Linked DNA regions of Homo sapiens: region 1 is linked to region 2. The links are contacts of gene promoters, found by promoter capture Hi-C in blood cells and fetal thymus (Javierre and others, 2016). All regions are on one chromosome and are shown on one strand. The core of a region is centred on a gene start or on the middle of the fragment in contact, and the rest is flanking DNA. Distances in the headings are between cores, read along the strand shown. Region 1 overlaps USF1 (upstream transcription factor 1). Region 2 holds the start of TAGLN2 (transgelin 2).

Region 1 (3,755 bases), core at 1,256-3,755, 1.1 Mb after region 2:
TGCAGTGAGCTGAGATCATGCCACTGCACTCCAGCCTGGGTGACAGAGCAAGACTCTGTCTCAAAAAAAAAAAAAAAAAAAAAAAACCACTTACGGAATCTGAGAAGAAACAAGGGTCACTCACGGGGAATAAGGGTGAGTCCTAGGGGCAATTGAGCGCTGGCTTCCTCCCTGCAGTACTTCTTGTGGTGACATCATCACAAAGAATTGACCTGTGAAGATGCAGGGTAGGTTCTGTCAGGACATGGGTAGGAACCTCACCAAGCCCTGAGGTGAAGACCCTGGTCCCCTCCTCTAAAAAGAACATGCTAATAGAAGAGCAGCCCCAGACTCACTGCCTGTCCAGGTCTTAATGATCACTAAGAGTCATGAGTGAAGGCTCACTGCCTACCAGTCATGTCCCACAGCCTATTCTAGCCCTTTCAGCCAGCATCCTCATGCAATATCTCACCAGTGCCAGGAGGGGTCGCCTGCCCCAGCAGTGCCTCTGAGCCCTGGGTAGTAACAACAGCAGCTGTACTCCCCGATGTGGTACCCCCTGCCCCATCTCCCACTGCCGTGCTGGGGAAGTAAGTATAGTGCGTCTCAGCAGCTGTCCCCTCCGTGTCAACTGCATCATCACTGGTGAAAGCACCCTGGATCACCGCCTGGGAAGGGGAGCAAGAAAACTGATTCTGGTAACAGTCAAAAACTTCTTCCCACTACACCACTCTGCAGCTTCTATCCGTTGGGGTGGTAGGTAGGGTGGAGAGAGAGAGAGAGAGAGAGAGAAACATCCAGAAAAGGAGAGCCTAGTGCTTTGGGACAAGGCAGCCTTAGATGCCTCACTGTTCCTAGCTTCACCCCCATCCTACTGATTCCCTTCTTCATCTTACTTCTCAGAACTCTAGTGACCTCCCCAGCCCATACCCTGTACCTGGGTCATGGATTGAGTGGCAGGGTAGCCACTGATGGCGCCAGTTCCCTCAGTTTGGCCATCCAGCTGCCCCTCAGACACCTGGATCACCCTGTACATCACCTAGAAGTGTAGAGGAAGGCAGAGGGAGTGAAGAGAGAAGAAAAGATTAAGTGTTGGGAATCCTAGGGCCCCTCATAAAGCTTCCCTTGGATAGGGCCCCAAAACAAAGTCCTTCAGAGACATGGATTCAGCCATTCTCCCTTCTTTCCCCACACAGAGGTTTCAGCATACATCTAACCTCACACCAGTCTCTACTCCAGTATTAGCACCTCCCTCCCCTGCAACAGTCCACTCTTTCAACTCATCCTCCAAGCCAGGTCTCCCCAAGACATGTTCAATTACCTCCCTCAATCCCAACCCCAGATAACACCTGCAGCCACCTGGCCCCCTCCCTTACCTGGCCCCCATTCTCAGTTCGGAAGACGTACTTGACGTTGGGGTCAGGGAAGGTGGCAGCTGACTGGATGCTGGCAATAGCCACACTGGTTGGGTCTTCCCCAGTAGCCACTGCACCTGAATTAAAAGAACAAAGGAAAAGTCTGTGAGTTAACTGCCTTTCTACCCCCGTTCCATTTGCATGTCACGGAAGGAGGAGGATGCACAGGAGATGGTCTGGTGGGGAAGGAAGGGAGGCCATGATGGGTTCTTAGTCTTGGTTCTGTTTCTAGCACTCACCTTCCTGAATCTGCACTGTCCCCTCTTCCGTTTCAGCTGTTTTCTGCTGCCTGTTTGTGGTGAAAGGACAAAAGGAAGAGTATGAGAAGAAGTCAATGAGAAGCTCACTGGCCCAGTAACATATGGCTGCAAACTCATTGGCATTCCCAACAGAAGCTGGGTTAGGTTAGAATAACAACTAGTGTTTACTGTTTACTATGTACATAAGCACTAAGCTAAGTACATTACATGTAATCTTATTTAGTACTAAAAACAGCACCACGAGATAGATAGCACTACTTCCATTTTATAGATAGAGAAACCAAATCACACAGTAAGTGATAGAGTAGAACCTGAATCCAGGTCTGCCTGACTCCAGAGGCAGTGCTCTTGGTCATTTTGCATTCTTCCAGGCCACCCATCTTTCATCCCAGACCCTACCTCTTCTTCACTCACCCCTTCATCTCTCTGTGAGGGGGCACATCCGAGGAACTGGTCCTTTTTTGGAGGTCTTTGTATCTCCTGATTCACAGGCCTGAGTGCTAAGTCCTGGTAGAAATCATGAAGTTTGCAATGAGTTTAGGAAACAGAACAGTATCTCTGGTTCTAGAACTTAGGTTCCATGAACACATAGCCAGGAAAATAACCCAGTCATCTGCAGGGGACAATCAGCCTCCACCATACTGATGTTGAGGACTGGCCTACAGTGATTGAAAAAGCAAGGCTACAAATAGTGTTCCCCATCCCTCCATTATCACTCCAACTCCTGGTGGAGAGTGGATAATTATACTGGAAGACAGAAACAACACTTTTTTTTTTTTTTTTTTTTTGAGACAGAGTCTCTCTCTGTCACCCAGGCTGGAGTGCAGTGGCGCGATCTCAGCTCACTGCAACCTCTGCCTCCCAGGTTCAAGTGATTCTCCTGCCTCAGCCTCCGGAGTAGCTGGGATTACAGGTGCACACCACCACGCCTGGCTAATTTTTGTATTTTTAGTAGAGACGGGGTTTCACCATGTTGGCCCGGCTGGTCTCGAACTCCTGAGAGCATGATCTGTCCACCTCGGCAGCCTCCCAAAGTGCTGGGATTACAGGTGTGAGCCACTGCACCTGGCCGAAACAACACATTTCTTTCTTTTTTTTTTTTTTTTTTCTGAGACAGAATCTTGCTCTGTCACCCAGGCTGGAGTGCAGTGGCACAATCTCGGCTTACAACCTCCATCTCCTGGGTTCAAGTGATTCTCCTGCCTCAGCCTCCTGAATAGCTGGGATTATAGGTGCCCACCACCACGCCCAGCTAATTTTTGTATTTTCAGTAGAGATGGGGTTTTACCATATTGGCCAGGCTGGTCTGGAACTCCTGACCTCAGGTGATCCGCCTGCCTCGGCCTCCCAAAGTGCTTGGATTACAGGCATGAGCCACCGCACCCAGCCAACAACACATCTCTAAATGGATCATTAAAGCTATTATGACCTGCCATGATGGCAGCTTCATGGGAATCAGGAAGGGCCATGTATTGGCCCCACCATCAAAAAATACAGTGTCATGGACACTGATGCTTCTTCCAGTTTCTCAGCCACATGTTGTCCATCAAGACATTTCTGTTTTCAAACCTAGGAAGAGGAAATCTGAAGCCCACTACCACTGGAAGAATATCCCTGACCACAAAGACTAGACTTGGCATTTGGGCCCCATTCTACTGACAGGACTCTTGTTTTGGGGTATCCAGATTTATATAATCTGTTAGAAACCCTAAAGCCCAAGTGGATCCTCTTCAAGCATTCTCTATTTTATTCATCAAGCCTTCCTGCAGAACAACACTGTTGCTAAAATGTTGCTATGACAACTCCAAATCAACTAAGCCTGAGCAAGAAGGGGTAAAAAAAAAAAAAACAGGGTTCTGAAGAAGAGACAAAGGGGGAAGAATCCACCTACAAGCTCTGCCTTAGGACCCTGACACCCAGCCAGAGGGCAGGAAAAACAAAGAGCTGGGCAGACATGCCTCCAGAAAGAAACAGCTACACAGTACAAAGCAATAAGATAATCCCAACACAAAAGGGGCAAGATTTTTGGAAATTCTCTACCCATAAGGTCCTCCAAACCTTTCCTATCCAAGGAAAATTTTCAATGGATAAGCCTCGGAAA
Region 2 (3,375 bases), core at 829-3,328:
AGCTTACCTCACCAAAGCCAAAGCCAAAGAAAAGGCGGACATGGGTGGGGGCAGGGAGGACTTCAGGGTTCTTGGCTAGGGTGTTTAATTGGGAAGACAAAGGGACTCTCCATCCACCGTGCAGATGGAACACAGGAGAACTTCCCAACTCAGATTTGGGACAGGGAGTGTTCTCAAAGAGCAGCACAGTGAGGGCACCAGCCCACAGAGCGAGGTGCCACAGCCAGCAGCAAGGATGGGGGGCGGCCCACAATTAAGGGAACCACCGTAGGGCAGCCCCTCACCACCGAGAGTCAGGAGCAGAAGAGAAAGCTGAGGCTACACAAACAGGAAGCTCCAAAGCTTGCGTGGGAGGAGGGGATGAGGTGGGGGCCGTTGCCATGGCTTCTGTGTACCAAACAGTGTTGGAGGCTGGGTGGGGGCTCCGGGCAGAAACACCCTGTCAACACAGACGTTGTGGTGAGCAGGCTGTGAGCACGGGAGCAGAAGTGGGATCGTCTCAGCAGTGCTCGGGTGTAGCCAGGTGCAAGAGATTATTCCAGGAGACAGCTATAGTGGGGATGGACAGCGTGTGGGGGAAGATAGGAAATGACCCGTGTTGGGGTGAAGAAGAGGACTCAGGAAGTAGTTGTTCAGGAGAAGAAATCCCCTGGGAAGGGAAAGTGTTCTGAGCTAGAGAACCCACAGCTGAAAATTCTGGAGGGAGAAGGGATGGAATGAAGAAAGGATTAGGGGCCAATCCCGGGGTGGGGGACAGGGGCAGAGGCCTTGGGGTGAGGGAGGGAGTTGCGGTTGGACAAAACCTATTTGTTGGTTCTGGAATGGTAGGGCCCTACTGGGCCCGCCCTGCCTTGGCCTCCTCTGCAGTTGTAGGTCTGCCCCTTGTAGTGGGGAGGAGAAACTGGGAGGGGGCTAGAGATAGAGAGCCATTGCTGTCTGGTGCTTTGAAGTCAATGAGAACACTGGGGGAGCCCCGTCCCAGCCGCAGGTCTTCTACATCGAATCCCACACTCCATCCCCACTCTCACCCCGTTTCTCTCTGCCCCACAGATACCAACTGCTCACAGATCTCCCAGGACACCGGCTTCAGGTAGCCCCAGGAGGCACAGGGCGCGGGGGGAGGCGGCAGTCCACCTCCGGTCCTGCAGGTCCGGCCTCCCAGCCGCCGCCCCCCACCCCCACGACCACACCCTGGGCCGTTACAACAGATGAGTCACCCACCGCCCTCCCGCCGCTGGGGTGACGCAGTGGTCTGGGCAGCCCGCCCGTCCGCCCGCGGCCACCACCGGCTTTCCCAGCAGCAGGGGGCACCCGGTGGGGGCAGCGGCGCTCGGGCAGGGTAAAAGCAGCCACCACCACCCCCACAACCTCACACAGGGCACCCCGGGGCGCAGTCAGGGCTGCAGCACCCAGACCCCCGAGGTCAGGGGACCGTCATAGAGATGACTGGAGCTTCACAGAAGGTCACCGTGCGACCCATGCAGAGCCCCCTAGCCCCAGCCCGTGACCTCAAGTCCCCAGAATAGCAAGCTAGCAGGAACAGGAATGAAAAGGGCGGCCTCGGGGACTCAGAGGGCACGCAGTGCTCACACGTGCTCCTGGAACCAGGAAGTGAAGGGTCGCGCGGGAAAGCCCAGGAGCACGAGCTGGCCCAGGGCCGGCGCCACGACCCGGGGTCACTCGGGGCCAGCCAGCTAAAGTCCGACGCCCTTTTTTCCCCTCGCCCCAGTGAGGACTCAGCGATGGAGCCCGCGGGTGGGGCTCAGTCCCTGAGTCCCTGCTCCAGACGGACGCCCTGTCTATGCATGGGCTAACCTCGCCTGACCTCATCGTCCAACAATGTCGGGTCAGGGCTTGGGGACAGGACCTGACAGCACGGGGCGGGGTAAAGTAGTCACCGGACCCTTGCCTGGTACCAGCCCTTGATCCCCGAGCTCGCTGGAGCAAGTTCAAAGCGCTGGCTTCTTGCTTTCTACACAGCACGCACATGTCCCCGACCCCCGTACCCCCGACCTGCTCACCGTTCAAGCGGGCTGGAGAGCGGCGCACTGACTCAAGGCAAGGGCTGCAGCTGCAAGTGGTGCGCCCTGCCCAGCCGGGGATTTTCAGGAGGGTCCCGCCTCAGACGGGGCGGACCCGGGGCGGGGCAAGGGCCAAGAAGGTTTAAAGGCGCCGCAGCGCAGAAGGAGGGAGGACTGCTTGAGACAGAGGGACAGTAGACCAGAGCAAGGGTTAAAGGTTCGGGGAGTCTGAATCTACAAAGGCGGCTGCAGTGGTCTCCACCCGTGAGTACCTCAGCCTCCACCGAGAGCCCGTAGACTTGTGCCCCAGTAGGAAACTTTCTGCCTAGAAAGTTAGCTAAACACTGTGGGCGTGTTTATGTAGGAAGAAGCCTCCTAGTTTAGAGGCTGGCAAGGTAAAAGGAGGCACAGGAAGGCCTTCCCCCGACCCCAACTGACTAGTGTGTGACAGGACTGGGACTTGCAGGCCGGGACAGCACCCCCACGTGATCTTGCTCACCTCTTACTTCAAGCCTGGGCAGGGACTAACAGTGAGGTCACTCTGCCCAGGGCCCTAGGGGTGTTTTCGGTGTTGGGACCCAGGGCTCAGACCTGTCTTCTCCCTGCCTTTCATCTCCTTTTCTATGACCTGGTATCTCTTCCTAAATCCTGGAGGGATCAGAGGGGGAGACCTCAGCGCGAGGAGGCTGGCTGGGGTTCTTTTGTCTCTGAGGGTGGAGGACAGCACAGTTCAGGGGTGGAGAAAGAGCCCCCCATCCTTTCAGGCTTCAGTTGAATAGAGTCCCCCGGGGTGGAGTTCTGCACACATGATAGAGTCCTCCCTTGAACCTGAGATTCCAGGATGTCAATATCCAGTCCTGTCCAACCTTTCTATTATTCTCTGTTCCCTCCCCGAGTCCTACACAGCCCTATATTCCAGTCCCACTGATTGTCAAGCATTCTCACTCTTCTGTGCCTTTACAAAGGCTATTCCTCTGCCTAGGACAGTTTCCCTTCCTTGACTGGCTCCCCACCTGCTCTACCCTTTACCTGCTGTGTGACTGTTGTGCATTCTATGCTTGAGTTCCCTGGTCTATAGAACAGAGCTAATAGTACTACCTAATTCATAGAATTGTAGAGAACTAAACAGTCCACCTATAGGGCTTAGAGCAGTGCCTGGCACATAGTGAATACTATTATTACCACCATCTATCTGTGAGGGTCCTGAGGACTCCCCCCCAATATGTGGCATTTGTCCCAGCACACGATATTAGCGTTCACTAAAGGTGGCCTTGAATGCAACATCTTCCTTTGTGCTACAATAACCAACACATAGCTTTATCACGGAACTTATCATACGGTAACTATTTCTTTG

Evidence for each region. The method cuts DNA at HindIII sites, captures the fragments that hold promoters and counts their contacts. A CHiCAGO score of 5 or more calls a contact.
Region 1: a contact is called between a fragment that was not itself captured here and the fragment with the promoter of TAGLN2 in region 2, in 1 of 17 cell types (fetal thymus). The highest score is 5.9, in fetal thymus.

What each region holds. Positions count from the first base shown.
Region 1 is chr1:161,041,200-161,044,954 of GRCh38, forward strand. USF1 (upstream transcription factor 1) reads right to left here. Exons shown (of 11, transcript NM_007122.5): 2 at 2,069-2,161; 3 at 1,634-1,683; 4 at 1,356-1,471; 5 at 917-1,018; 6 at 452-647; 7 at 125-212. The coding sequence starts at 2,076. Among named protein-coding and RNA genes, the nearest start is that of USF1, 2.9 kb to the right of the region's middle. RefSeq lists enhancers at 558-717, 3,578-3,755. The HindIII fragment of the contact is 2,818 bases long and covers 1,097-3,755 here.
Region 2 is chr1:159,923,429-159,926,803 of GRCh38, forward strand. It overlaps TAGLN2 (transgelin 2), which reads right to left and starts at 2,079. Exons shown (of 5, transcript NM_003564.3): 1 at 2,022-2,079. LOC124904437 (a long non-coding RNA gene) reads left to right here and starts at 450. Exons shown (of 2, transcript XR_007066683.1): 1 at 450-523; 2 at 1,051-3,375. RefSeq lists enhancers at 100-199, 210-369, 509-1,708, 1,181-1,757 and a silencer at 1,040-1,449. The HindIII fragment of the contact is 4,255 bases long and covers 341-3,375 here.